Regions from separate parts of the Homo sapiens genome. Here region 2 is linked to region 1. Evidence: promoter capture Hi-C in human tissues and cell types (Jung and others, 2019). All regions are on one chromosome and are shown on one strand. Each heading gives the region's core, a stretch centred on a gene start or on the middle of the fragment in contact. The rest is flanking DNA. Distances are from core to core; before and after follow the strand shown. Region 1 holds the start of GPR151 (G protein-coupled receptor 151). Region 2 overlaps STK32A (serine/threonine kinase 32A).

Region 1 (6,813 bases), core at 3,939-6,438:
AGTCTAGCATCGTGCCTGGCACAGAGAAAATAGCTCAGTAAGCATTCACGTTAGGAAAGGAGGTACATGCACTTTATATTCTCAGTGTCAAAGGCTCAATAAATGCTTATTGAACTAAACTATACTAATTTGAGAACTGCATTGCTTAAAGAACAGTACTTCCCACAGCTTCTTTGGTGGGGTGGGATCATGGAAGAGATCACACAGGTAGTAAATGACAGAGTTGGGATGGAAACCCCTGGGAGAACAGCTCTGGGGTCAGACTTCCAGAGGTTTCCATCCCAACTCTGTCATCTACTACCTATATGATCTACAGACCCACAGGCAAGATACTGCATTTCTTTATGCTTCCATGTCATCATCTGTAAATTGGGGTCGTCGTACCCATCTCCAGGAGTTGTCATGAAGGTCCAAGTGCCTGGAATGCTTAGCTCAGTAGGTGGAGCTTATGACTCACTCAGTAAATGACTGCCATTGTTATTACCCCTTCTCTGGAAATAAGCTACAGGGTAAACTTTGCCCAGCCCCAGTAAGAGGTCACTCTTAGCCCTGTTTTGACCAGAAGCCACTTAAAAGTCTGGCCACAAACTTGCTTTTTCTGGGTTCTTTTGAAGATTAAGCTGAATGAGGTCCCCTGTAACTTACATATAAAGCAGAATTGTGTGTGTGTGTGTGTGTGTGTGTGTGTGTGTGTACATATATATATATATATATATATATATATATATATATATATATATATATGCCTACAGCTCAGATGTTCAGTTGTTTGATGACTGCTTCTCAATGTCCAGAGCCAACCTCCTGGCAACATCACTATGAGTGGTGTGTGTGTCAGGAAAGTGACACAGCTGACGCATTTGGGGTTGGCAGCTGCTCTGTGGCTACAGCCTTAGCTTAAGTGTGGAATTAGAGAAGGCTTTTCTGAAAGACCATTTAAAGCCAGGGACACTAGGCATCAGAGGGACCCAGCAAATTTTGTGTCTCTACGTTCTGAGTCTCCCTTTCTCCCTGCTCCCCTCATATCCTTTCTCACCCAGCACTGTCCTTTCGCTTGGTCCCTCTAGGCCACAGTCTCTTTCTTCATAAACTATTTTTTTAAATCAGTCAGAATAGGCTGTTGTGGCTCATGCCTGTAATCCCAGCACTTTGGGAGGCCGAGGTGGGTGGATTGCTTTTGGTCAGAGTTTGAGACCAGCCTGGTCAACATGGCGAAACCCCATCTCTACTAAAAATACAAAAAAATTAGCCAGGCATGGTGGCGGGCACCTGTAGACCCAGCTACTCAAGAGGCTGAGGTTGCAGTGAGCTGAGATCGTGCCACTGCACTCCAGCCTGGGCGACAGAGCCCTCAGAAAAAATAAAAATAAAAATAAATTTAAAAGTCTCAGAATAGAATATCCATTCTGCTGGAGGCTACTCAGCATTTCAAGAGCAGGGAAATCTGCTCTTTACCTTTTCTCCATCCCAAATAACTCCTTTCTTGAAAAGAGCTTTTATTGAGGTATAATTTGCATACCATAAAATGCAATCATAGAACATTTTCATCACCCCAAACATATCCTCTGTGCCTATTTGCGGTCACTCCCCTTTCACACCTCGGGACCCAGGGAACCACTATTCTACTTCCTGTTTCTATAGATTTGCCTTTTCTGGACATTTCCTATTAATGGAATCTTACTGTAGGTATTTTTTTTTTTGGTCTGGATGTTTTTATTTAGCATAGTGCTTTTTTTCATCCATATTGTTGAATTTATCATTCATTTTTATTGCTGAATAATGTTCCATGGCATGAAGGTAGCCACTTGTTTATCTATTGACCAGCTGATAAACATTTGGGTTGTTTCCAGCATTTTGTGGGGATGAGGTTGTTTCCAGTTTCCATCTCAAATAATTCTCAATTGTTTTTAATTGTTCTGCTCTATCCACCCCATCCATATCATTTTTCCCCAGAATCCCTTCTATCCAACAGGAGAGGTTCATATACTAGGCACCTCCCCAAAATAAATAAAAATAAGGAAACCTGACAAATGTTCACCACATCTACAACTGAATTCTATGTTTTAAGTGAATATGCTATAAACAAAGATTCAAATAACTTCCACTTATAATGCAAATAAAGACTTCTTTTATGTTTGCTAATTACATTTATCCTTTATACGGAAATAATTTTAAAATGAAGAAAATGTAGATACAAGCCACATATAACATCCATCAGATACTCAGATATACAAGGGCTAATATTCAAAGTAAAATGTGAAACTTGGGTAGTATGGTCTGAATCTTTATGTGCCCTCCAAAATCACATGTTGAAATTTTCAGCCGGGCGCAGTGGCTCAAGCCAGTAATTCCAGCACTTTGGGAGGCCGAGGCGGGCGGATCACGAGATCAGGAGATCGAGACCATCCCGGCTAACACGGTGAAACCCCGTCTCTACTAAAAATATAAAAAAAAATTTAGCCAGGCATGGTGGCGGGCACCTGTAGTCCCAGCTACTCAGGAGGCTGAGGCAGGAGAATGGCATGAACCCAGGAGGCAGAGCTTGCAGTGAGCCAAGAGTGCGCTACTGCACTCCAGCCTGGGGTGACAAAGTGAGACTGTGTCTCAATAAATAATTAATCGGTGAACTCAGATGAAGTATATAGGGCAATTCTTTGTGCTCTTCTTGCATTTTTTCTCTATACATTTGCAATTATTTTTATTTTTTTATTTTTTAAGACAGAGTCTCTCTTTGTCACCCAGGCTGGAATGCAGTGGGACCATCTCGGCTCACTGCAACCTCAGCCTCCCAGATTCAAGCAATTCTCCCGCCTCAGCCTCCCGAGTAGCTGAGACTACAGGCATGTGCCACCACACCTGGCTAATTTTTGTATTTTTTAGTAGCGACGGGGTTTCACTATGTTGGCCAGGCTTGTCTTGAACTCCTGACCTCGGGTGATCCACCTGCCTTGGCCTCCCAAAGTGCTGGGATTACAGGTGTGAGCTACCGTGCCCAGAAGCAATTATTTTTAAATAAAAAGTTAAAATAAATTTCCCCCAAAAGAGCGGAGAAAGTTCATTATCCTTCAGTCCAAAGACTTTATCTCTAGCTGGAGCACCAGGAGATGCTTCCCTGAGTCAGTACCAATAGACTTGGGAAGTACCACATGACAGTCTTTAGTTTCCCTCAATTGTCTATTAAGAATCAAATTTCCATGGTATTAAAGGTGGCTTGAACCCATTTAGCTTTTTATCTTATACAGCTTCAGGAGGCTTGAATATCATAATCTTGAATATATAAGCCACAGTGTGAAGCAGTATATTTGTTTCTTGGTTCTGAATGAATCTCTTCCACATACATCAAGTGAACTACCTTCCTTGTAGTCTACAATCTGCAAAACATCACTCTGCTCCCTCCCCCATTTTCTTCCCTGTAAGACGTTGCGGGCCTCTTCACACCCAAAAGTGATGCTTGTTGAGACTCAAGGATATTTCATCCTTAAGTAGTTACTGGGAGTTACTGTGCCTTGCTGGAATAAGGTGTTGCCCCAATTTACTGTTCTATAGGAACAACTACTTCCCAGAGGTAAAAGGAAGGAAAGCAAAAGGAAATAGAAATGGAAACAAAGGAACCCAGCACCACTGACCACTGTCCCAATAGCTATACTGATCACTACTTATTTATTTTCTAGGACACTGAAGAATTTTAAAACGTCAGACCCTTCTTTACTTGCGAAAAACGTGAAAGCACAGTACCAGAATCCAGAGATCTGAATGCAGCAGCATACTCTCCTGTATATCATGCTTTAGCTTTTCTGACTAGCCACACTCAATGTAGCATGTATCTTCATATCAACCCCACAAACCCCATTCTCTGAACATTTTGAGCTCCTCTAATCCCCCCAGAGTATCCATTGCTTATTTTAAAATTTCAGGGCTAGTTCTACCAAATCATCTTATCTGAGAATTTTTTTATTTCTAGAGACAGAGGATCACTCTGTCACTCAGGTTGGAGTGCAGCAGCACAGTCATAGCTCACTGCAACCTCGAACTCCTGGGCTTAAGCAACCCTCTCACCTCAGTCTCTTAAGTAGCTAGGACTACAGGTGTACACCATCATGGCTGACTTTTTTTTTTTTCTTTTTTTTTTTTTTCTTGTTTGTTTGGTAGAGGTGGGGGCAGGGGTCTCACTTTGTTGCCCAGGCTGGTCTCGAACTTCTGGCCTTAAGCAATCCTCCCGCCTCCACCTCCCCAAATTCTGGGATTACAGGCATGAGCCAGTGTGCCCAGCACAAAATCTTTACCAACTTTAAAATATAATTTAAAAAAATCTCTTAAATGCCTTCCACATAGATATTGATTTTTCTTTCATTTCTCTTGTCTTGGTAAATCCTCTAGGAATGCTCTCTGAAAAGCAGCTTAATTCATCATGCAGTTGCCTTCATCACCATCACTTGTTGAAAAGTCTTATTAGTATGTAAAGCAGTTCTAATTTGGAGCTGTAAAATTGCTTCTAAAAACTCGTAATAGAATAAACTGAGAGTCATCCATAATTAGATTTTTTTAATAGGACTTCTAACTTGTTTTCATTATCCAGCTGTGTTTGAACTCAGCCAGCTGTTGATGGAACTGAGGTGGTTGTAAGGGTTGGGGAAAAGAAGAGGAAGCTCATCTCTGCAGAGTGGGTAGGGGAAGCTTTAGTTCTCAGTTTAAAACAGTGGTTCTCAAAGTGTGGTCTCCCAACCTGCAGCATCAGAGTCTCATGGGAACTTGTTAGAAATGATTTCTTGGGCCCTACTCCAGACCCACTGGATCCGGCCATCAGGTGAAGTTCAAAGAACTTGGTTCAGATGTAGTGTTCACTAAATTACAGACAGCAGTCAAGATTTTAGGAAGAGCTGGTTGAAAATAATTGCCTTGACTGGCTCTAGTGACCCCCCAAGGAACACATGCCACTTACATGTATGTTCTCTTCATTCATCATTTATGGGTATATTTGTATTACTCCACAGGGCTGACGATTTGGTATTAGACTTGCTAATGAGCAGCAGCCATGTGCTCCTGCTATCTGACAGTCGGTACAGTCACAAGTATATTGTATGCAGCAGAGAAGAGCTTAACAGCCAGCCTCCTTCCACATTCTGCTCTCAGGAAATAAGCAAGGGGAGGATCCAGAAGTGTCATTTGACACTGACGACAGAGTACTTATTTCCTATGCAAAAGAGCCCAGGCAGAAAGACAAACCTAAATAAGAATCTAACTTCTGTAAGAAGCTGTGAAGAGTGATGCTGGCAGCTGCCTTTGCAGACTCTAACTCCAGCAGCATGAATGTGTCCTTTGCTCACCTCCACTTTGCCGGAGGGTACCTGCCCTCTGATTCCCAGGACTGGAGAACCATCATCCCGGCTCTCTTGGTGGCTGTCTGCCTGGTGGGCTTCGTGGGAAACCTGTGTGTGATTGGCATCCTCCTTCACAATGCTTGGAAAGGAAAGCCATCCATGATCCACTCCCTGATTCTGAATCTCAGCCTGGCTGATCTCTCCCTCCTGCTGTTTTCTGCACCTATCCGAGCTACGGCGTACTCCAAAAGTGTTTGGGATCTAGGCTGGTTTGTCTGCAAGTCCTCTGACTGGTTTATCCACACATGCATGGCAGCCAAGAGCCTGACAATCGTTGTGGTGGCCAAAGTATGCTTCATGTATGCAAGTGACCCAGCCAAGCAAGTGAGTATCCACAACTACACCATCTGGTCAGTGCTGGTGGCCATCTGGACTGTGGCTAGCCTGTTACCCCTGCCGGAATGGTTCTTTAGCACCATCAGGCATCATGAAGGTGTGGAAATGTGCCTCGTGGATGTACCAGCTGTGGCTGAAGAGTTTATGTCGATGTTTGGTAAGCTCTACCCACTCCTGGCATTTGGCCTTCCATTATTTTTTGCCAGCTTTTATTTCTGGAGAGCTTATGACCAATGTAAAAAACGAGGAACTAAGACTCAAAATCTTAGAAACCAGATACGCTCAAAGCAAGTCACAGTGATGCTGCTGAGCATTGCCATCATCTCTGCTCTCTTGTGGCTCCCCGAATGGGTAGCTTGGCTGTGGGTATGGCATCTGAAGGCTGCAGGCCCGGCCCCACCACAAGGTTTCATAGCCCTGTCTCAAGTCTTGATGTTTTCCATCTCTTCAGCAAATCCTCTCATTTTTCTTGTGATGTCGGAAGAGTTCAGGGAAGGCTTGAAAGGTGTATGGAAATGGATGATAACCAAAAAACCTCCAACTGTCTCAGAGTCTCAGGAAACACCAGCTGGCAACTCAGAGGGTCTTCCTGACAAGGTTCCATCTCCAGAATCCCCAGCATCCATACCAGAAAAAGAGAAACCCAGCTCTCCCTCCTCTGGCAAAGGGAAAACTGAGAAGGCAGAGATTCCCATCCTTCCTGACGTAGAGCAGTTTTGGCATGAGAGGGACACAGTCCCTTCTGTACAGGACAATGACCCTATCCCCTGGGAACATGAAGATCAAGAGACAGGGGAAGGTGTTAAATAGATTTAAGTTTCAAAGCAAAACAAACTGTGATTATTGTATTTACTTGTACTGCTGCTTATCAATATTGCTGACTTTACAAACTGATATAATTATTACCATTAGGAATTATAAAAATATTTCACAATCTACACTTTCCAAATGTGCAATGTGGTAAGTAGAGAACCATGTTAGAAGTAATAATTGTTTCAGAATTAGAACTTGGCTTCCCAAACAATTTAAGTGTTGTGTAAAGATGTTGCTGTCAAAGTGATTAGACAGCCTGGCTATTCTGTCATTTGTTCACAGTGGT
Region 2 (7,063 bases), core at 2,042-4,541, 850 kb before region 1:
ACTAATTGAGATAAAAGATTTTTGCCCCCTTAACCATTCCTGAGCCAACATCACAGCAATTGTGTGGCTCAAATAGGCATTGTCAGTCCCACTTGAGAATGCTTCTGAAGATGACAACCATGCAACCTCAGGGTGTAATTTGTGGAGTGAAGCAGGGCTGTCTTGGAACTAAGCAGAATTTGCTTATGAAAAATGATCCCCCATTCTATGTCTTTGACATTACTGATGCAATGTCCCTATTCCAAAATAAGGAACTTGACTCCAAAAACAAGAGACACAAATGATGACTCCTTAGCCACTAAAGCTATTTTCCATTACCAGCCACAACTGGTGCAATTTTCTCCTCAAAAAAAAAAAAAAAAAAAAAAAAAAAAAAGGCCAAGCCCATTCCTCTTGGGCCCCTCATTCTTGTTTTGTATCATCACTCAATATACACTTTTGACCTCCCGCTATAACTGTTCTTCATCTGTTTGATGAAGATGGGTACCTTGAAAATCTGATGAAAGCTGTGGACCTCATTTATTTGAATACTTGTCAAATTTCACTTCTCAGGCTTTGTGTTAGATGCTGAGAATACAATGGTAACACATGTCAGACATGGTCCCTACCCTCATGAAGCTAAGAAGAAAATGGTACGTAACCAAGGATCACACAAATGCTGGGTATAATTTTAAACTGAAAAATGCTATGAAGGAAAGATAGTGTTATGTGAACTTACACCAAGAAGGTGATATTTGAGCTAAGAGCTAAAGTTGTGCTTCCCAAACTATGTAGAAGGGTCAGTTATTTTTGTTTGTTTTTGTCTGTTTCAATTTCCAATCCACTGAAATCAGTATGTGGTCTTATTATGCATTGCCAGTATGCAGCACCCCACATAGACACCTTGTGACTTGAGTTCAACAACCGTCAAACAAGCTTGGACCCTCTTCAATAAGATAAGTCCATTGATCATGTGTTTAGATGCTACAGCAGTGTCCAATTGCTATAAAAGTTTCTAAATGCTTCTCTCAAGTTCTTTACTTACAATAGACCTGCAGAAAAAATTCATGGACTAGAACCAGTGAACCACATTGAGTAGTACTGCTCTCAAGGAGGAACTGGAGGAACTAGGATTGGAGGCACTGTTCCAGGAATAGGTACTGGCATGTGCAAAGGTCCTGTGGTGAGAGGAAGACTGGTATGTAAAAGTGAAGAAGGAGAAAAGAAAGAAAAGAAGAAGAAAAAGGCCAAAGCAGTTTATGTGTAGTCAAAGGGGGGACAAAAGTCCAAAAGTCCAAAACAAGGCTTGAGAGGTATTTTGAACTTTTGTACCACAAAATTATTTTAATCTTTATTCTAAGAATAAGGAAAATATCCTGGACTGTCCTTTAACAGACCACTGTGGGGCTGCATGGGGAATAGAATGGAGTGGTAAAAGTGTATGTGGACAAACCCGTTATAAGGCTAGACTGATGGCAGTTGGATCAGGGAAATAGTAGTGAGGACAGAGAGAAGTGAAATATTTTAATACTTAAAATATAAAATTTCAGAACCTGGTGATGAATTGAATACGCAGATGACAAATGAGTCCTGGTTGCTGGCTGGCGTAAGTGGATTTGGATAGAGAAGCCAGTCACTGAGAGAATTTCCTGAGAAGATATTCAGGAAAGACAAAGATAAAGAAGTCCTTTGAGTTTAAGATGGCTTTGGGACATCCAAGGGGAATCTGAGTTGAGTTAATGAAGCCATGTATTTGAAAGCTAACAGCTAGAAAATACACTCTACAAATGTATACTATCATGACTGTCCCCAATATTGTATACTAACTTCTAAACTTAAGCCAGAGAGCCTGCTTCCTTTTGTTACTTCGTTTGGACATGCAGTCTTCCTTCTTACCTTTTTAAGAAGTGACACCATTTCCTGTGACCAGGCAGAAGGGTAAGTTACAACAGTCGTCTCAAACGTGTGTACAATTTCCTTGCTGGAAGTACTGGAGCGAATATGATACGGTCTCTTAAGGGAGAAAAGAAGTAAAAGTCTTCATTTGTATAGGACAAAAGAAAAAAAAAATTTCCAAATGTTTCCAAGCTAAACTTTCAACCGATAAAATATCTATATCAATTTCTAACCCTGTCCAGCTGACTCTTGCGTTGCCATATGTGTAGGTGGTCCTGTGTTGCCAGACCCCCTACTTTTTCTTAAAGAGACACTAGGAATTTATGGTCGCTTCTAAAATACCATAAATTTTAAAGTTGAACACTCCACTGAGCCAAACAAAACATTCAAGTGGACTGAATCAGCCTCTGAGATGCTGATTTGAAATTGTTTTATAAGGTATTATATAAGTATTAACACGAAATACTGGACAAGTCCTCAATAAATGGAAGTCTAAAAAATTATTATGTAAGGGTTGATTGCAAGTAAATCCAGAATTTTACCATACCATCCCTTTCACTGCAACATAATGAGGAAGCTCAGGACAGAAAACTGCTCAGAAAACATCAACTCCAGTCCCACAAATGCTATGAGTCCCTGGTTCCACAGAGTATGGCAGGGTGGAGAATTTTGTGATGAGGCAGAAGCTTTTAAAAAAAATTTTGGGGGAAGAACCAGGTTCTTCTACAGTTTTAATTTTGAAGAAAAGTAATTTAAAAAGAAAAGAAATTAAACAAAAGAAAACTGTGGATTAGCTGTAGTTTTCACAGCTTTACACTAGAGGACAGCCTTTATCTATATTATTTTGTAGGGGACTCACCAACACTGAAATTTCATGTCTCTTATGTGAACTGTAAGATACTCACAGCCAGAGATTATATCATTCTTGTTCATGAGACCAAGCATTCAGTAGGTGCACAATACATGTTTATTTAATGAACAAAATTTCCATATTCGATTAACTAGCCACAGCACAGTTAATATGGATATACACATTGATCACATGCCTGGCCCTTTTAAGATATTTAATAAATGACTGTTGATGGATGACCTAAATTGGGGGAAATGAAAGGGTTTAAGTTTTTCCCTGTAGTAAATCAGTGTTAAGAGGTAATATAAAATAATCATGTGTTTGAGGTTAAAAGGATTTGGTGCTAAACTTCTCCACTCAATTTCTGAGCTTGTTACTTCATCTGTAAAATGAGCTACCTCATGAGATTGCTGGAAAAATTAAAGGAGATAATATGTGTAAATTTCTCAACAGAGTGAGTGGCTAATAGTATTAGACACAATATAAGAGAGAGATTTTTATCATTATTGACACAAAGGTAAAAATGGGCATATGTAAATGTGAATGAATAGTGAACAGCAAAATGAGTCCTCAAGAAAAGTGATGGGAAGAAAAGCTTAATTTTACACATGGCAAGTCAATGTCAGCTATTCATGGAACCATGAAGTGCCAGGAGGTGGCCCTTGAAAGGGAGATTAATTCAAACATTTTTGCTTTTTAAGTAAGATCTAAAAACAACTGCCATATTTACCCCCTCAACACTAAATAAAGGACCATAGCTATATCATATGTCTTGGTAATTATATAGTAGAAATAACTCATTAACTCAATATCAGTAAAGGAGTGCTAGATGCTTTATCACCATTATCAATGTTTATTGGTAATTTAGTAGCCAAAGGGTTAGGTTACTCCATATGATTCAGACCATGTTTATCATTAAGAATCAGATTAGGCTTAGTATACTCAAGCTTCTAGGCTTATATGTGTATGCACATGTGTTTTTACTTTTTTCTGTGTTTCTTCTTGATTTTAATTCATTGCTGCTTCTCAACCTACTGTTTCTGGGCCACCTAGAAAATAAAATGATTTTATAAACAAATGAATTAACTGATGAATGCCACAAGCAGCTGGTTTAAGTGTGTACATTTTTCTCTAGTTACTTTACAAGGCCATATGACTGAATTTAATTTTTAAAATCTCCATGACCTGTTGGTTTATTAAAAAATAATCACATTGTCTTTATCTTATTTTTTAATTTACTTTTACAGTTCTAAATTTTAAAATTAATTTGAATTAATCAACTACCAGAATTGTATATTTATTTATTTACCAATTATTTATTGAATGCCTACCATGTTCCAGCACCTTTCTTAGGCATTGAGGGTACAATGAAGAACAAGACACATATGGTTTCTATGTTGGTGGGGCCTACAGTCTACTTAAGGAAGCATGTAAATTTATTATATAGACTGTATACACACACACACACACACTTAAATAAATGGGATACATGCTATAGAGAAAAATTACAGTATGCAGTCACAGTATATATCATAAAAGCCTAAGGCAGCATCTAAACTAACAGTGAGCATATAGAGAATAAACAAAGTGGAAAAGGTGAAATGTTATAAGGGAACAAATGATGTGTTGTGAATATGGTTGTATTTCAGAAGTGCAAAGGCAAAAGAATTGCAGCTAAGCATGTACAATGAGTACAAAACTATGTACACATCTATCCTAAGTTAACACTTTTGGATAATATGAAACTATAAAAGATGTGGACCTTTGCCTTTGCAATGGCAATGAGATAGTAGGGAGTTAGAGAGATGACAAAGCAGATTAATAGTTAAGGGACACATTCATTAAGACTGAAACCAAACTCAGAAATGATGAGAATGTTTTCGAGCACATTTTCTCATTAAGACATATACTTTTCTGTAAATAAAAATTTGTACGTATGGAGGAAATTGTTTAGCACACTTCCTCTGTGCTTGAGTTGTATTGATGCTTGTAATTAAATGTTACTTCCTTTTCTTCAGATAAGCTACATTTTGAAACGTAATTGCAGGTAGCATAGTTGGTCATTTTTTCCTAGAAGGTGTCTAAGTGATTTGTTTCTCCATTCATTCAATAACTGTCAGGCCTCTGAGCCCAAGCTAAGCCATCATATCCCCTGTGACCTGCACATACACATCCAGATGGCTGGTTCCTGCCTTAACTGATGATATTCCACCACAAAAGAAGTGAAAATGGCCGGTTCCTGCCTTAACTGATGACACTACCTTGTGAAATTCCTTCTCCTGGCTCATCCTGGCTCAAAACGTCCCCCGCTGAGCACCTTGTGATCCTCACCCCTGCCCACCAGAGAACAACCCCCCTTTTTCCTTTACCTACCCAAATCTTATAAAACGGCCCCACTCCTATCTCCCTTCGCTGATTCTCTTTTCGGACTCAGCCCACCTGAAACCCAGGTGAAATAGCCTTGTTGCTCACACAAAGCCTGTTTGGTGGTCTCTTCACATGGATGTGAGTGAAAATAACCATGTATTATATACCTATTTAAAGTTAAATATTGTGACCAGGTGCGGCGGCTCACACCTGTAATCCCACCACTTTGCAGGGCCAAGGCAGGTGGATTGCTTGAGCCCAGGAGTTCAAGACTAGCCTGGGCAACATGGTAAGACCCCAACTCTACAAAAAATACAAAAAATTTCCAGGCATGGTGGCATATGCCTGTAGTCCCAGCTACTTGGGAGGCTCAGGCGGGAGGGTTGATTGGACAGAGGAGGGGGTGGTTGCAGTGAGCCGAGATTGGGCCATTGCACTCCAGCCTGGGGGACAGAGCAAGACTCTCCTGAGGAAAAAAAAAACAGTTAAATACTGTGAATAATACTAACCTATATAAGATACATACTTTACCTTTAATGAATTAACAACCTAATAATATACAAGAGATAAAAAATAAAAATTGATATGCCTATAGATTTAATCCTTAAAAAGAAAATAGATTTAGGTGTTCTGATCTAGAAAGCTGTACATTTTATCTTATGAAATGAAAAAAAAAAAGGCTCAACAAGGTAAAACATACTTCTATTTTTGCTAAAACAACACATCTATCTATATCTATCTATCTGAAGATAGAGTATCCTTATGAGAACAGAAACAAGTTGGAAGTGAATGCAACAAACTGCTAAGATGGGGTTTAAAAGTCAAAGGGAGTTTAATTTCTTAATTGGAAATGTTCTTTGCCTTAGAGACTACAGCTGATTTTTGCTTTCATTTTCGTGGTTTTCTATATTTTCTAATAAGCTTAGATTCCAAAGATTCACAGGATACATAAAGTAAATAAATGTTTGGAAGAGATTCGGATCACTTTAGATAGGGAGGTCAGAGAATGTTTCTTTAGAGAAAGTGCTATTTTGTCATAGGTGATAAAGTATGAATAGAATTTGAATATAAAGAGATCTAGAAAAACCTCCCCAACACGAACTGGAATAGTTTAATAGTGTGTCCTTTCTTAGAAATGACCAAAATACTTGGCTATAAAGATTTTGAAAAGCCCTGCAATGAAGATATATCCTTTATTAAAACTTCATTTAGTGATTTCAAATCTTACGCAGAGTGATTTTTAAAGAAGACCAAGGTTTGCCTTGGAAACTCTCTTTATAGGCGAAGGAACAAGAGGTTAAAAAACCCAAGAGATGCTTTGAGAAGAGGAAGAAGTTCTAAGAGGCCAAAATGAGTTCATGAAGGGTCAGAAATACACAAATGGAAGCAAAATCTGAAACGTTGACCTAATTCCGAAGAATGCCAAGCTAAGACATCTGAAGTTTGTTGTGGGGAGTGGGCGGGGGTGCAGATAAGGCTTGTGAAGGGTGTGTATGTGTATGTGTGTGTGTGTGTGTGTGTAGCACTGGGGAGCAACAGTAGTTTCTTTTTCTTAACAAAAAAGGTCATATCTGTGCTTTAGAAAAATGAATTTGTCAAAGTTGACATATCAAATCACAGGGAACTAGCATAGAGGTAAAATAATATGGGAAGAAGAGAAACAATTTTCTTAGCAAAATTCTTTCCAGGCAGGCGAGAATACCTCTTTTAGATAGGTGATAGTTAAATACAATCCTAGGCATGTTTGAAGAATAACAGATAGTCGTTTGTCTGTTTCAACTCGCTCCTCTGCTTCTGTTTTGCTAGGTGTGTCATAAAAGATGAGGGCAGAGCACAATTGCTCTGAACCCCAGAAGCAGCTAGCAAGGGTCTAACACAGAAGCACAGCCACAGAAGGTGAGTAAATTGGCTGGGGAGAAAAAAATTAAGGGTGAAGTGGGAAAGAGCAGATATGTTTCTACTTTTAAGTAA

What was found. Contacts are between HindIII fragments. The study calls those that stand out against the background at their distance.
Region 2: a fragment that was not itself captured here is called in contact with the fragment with the promoter of GPR151 in region 1 in 1 of the 25 tissues and cell types used here (dorsolateral prefrontal cortex).

Annotation. Positions count from the first base shown.
Region 1 is chr5:146,514,565-146,521,377 of GRCh38, reverse strand. It overlaps GPR151 (G protein-coupled receptor 151), which reads left to right and starts at 5,188. Exons shown (of 1, transcript NM_194251.3): 1 at 5,188-6,813. The coding sequence starts at 5,265. The coding sequence ends at 6,524. The HindIII fragment of the contact is 7,544 bases long and covers 2,204-6,813 here.
Region 2 is chr5:147,365,583-147,372,645 of GRCh38, reverse strand. STK32A (serine/threonine kinase 32A) reads right to left here. Exons shown (of 13, transcript NM_001112724.2): 9 at 1,876-1,992. Among named protein-coding and RNA genes, the nearest start is that of STK32A, 130 kb to the right of the region's middle. The HindIII fragment of the contact is 3,105 bases long and covers 1,739-4,843 here.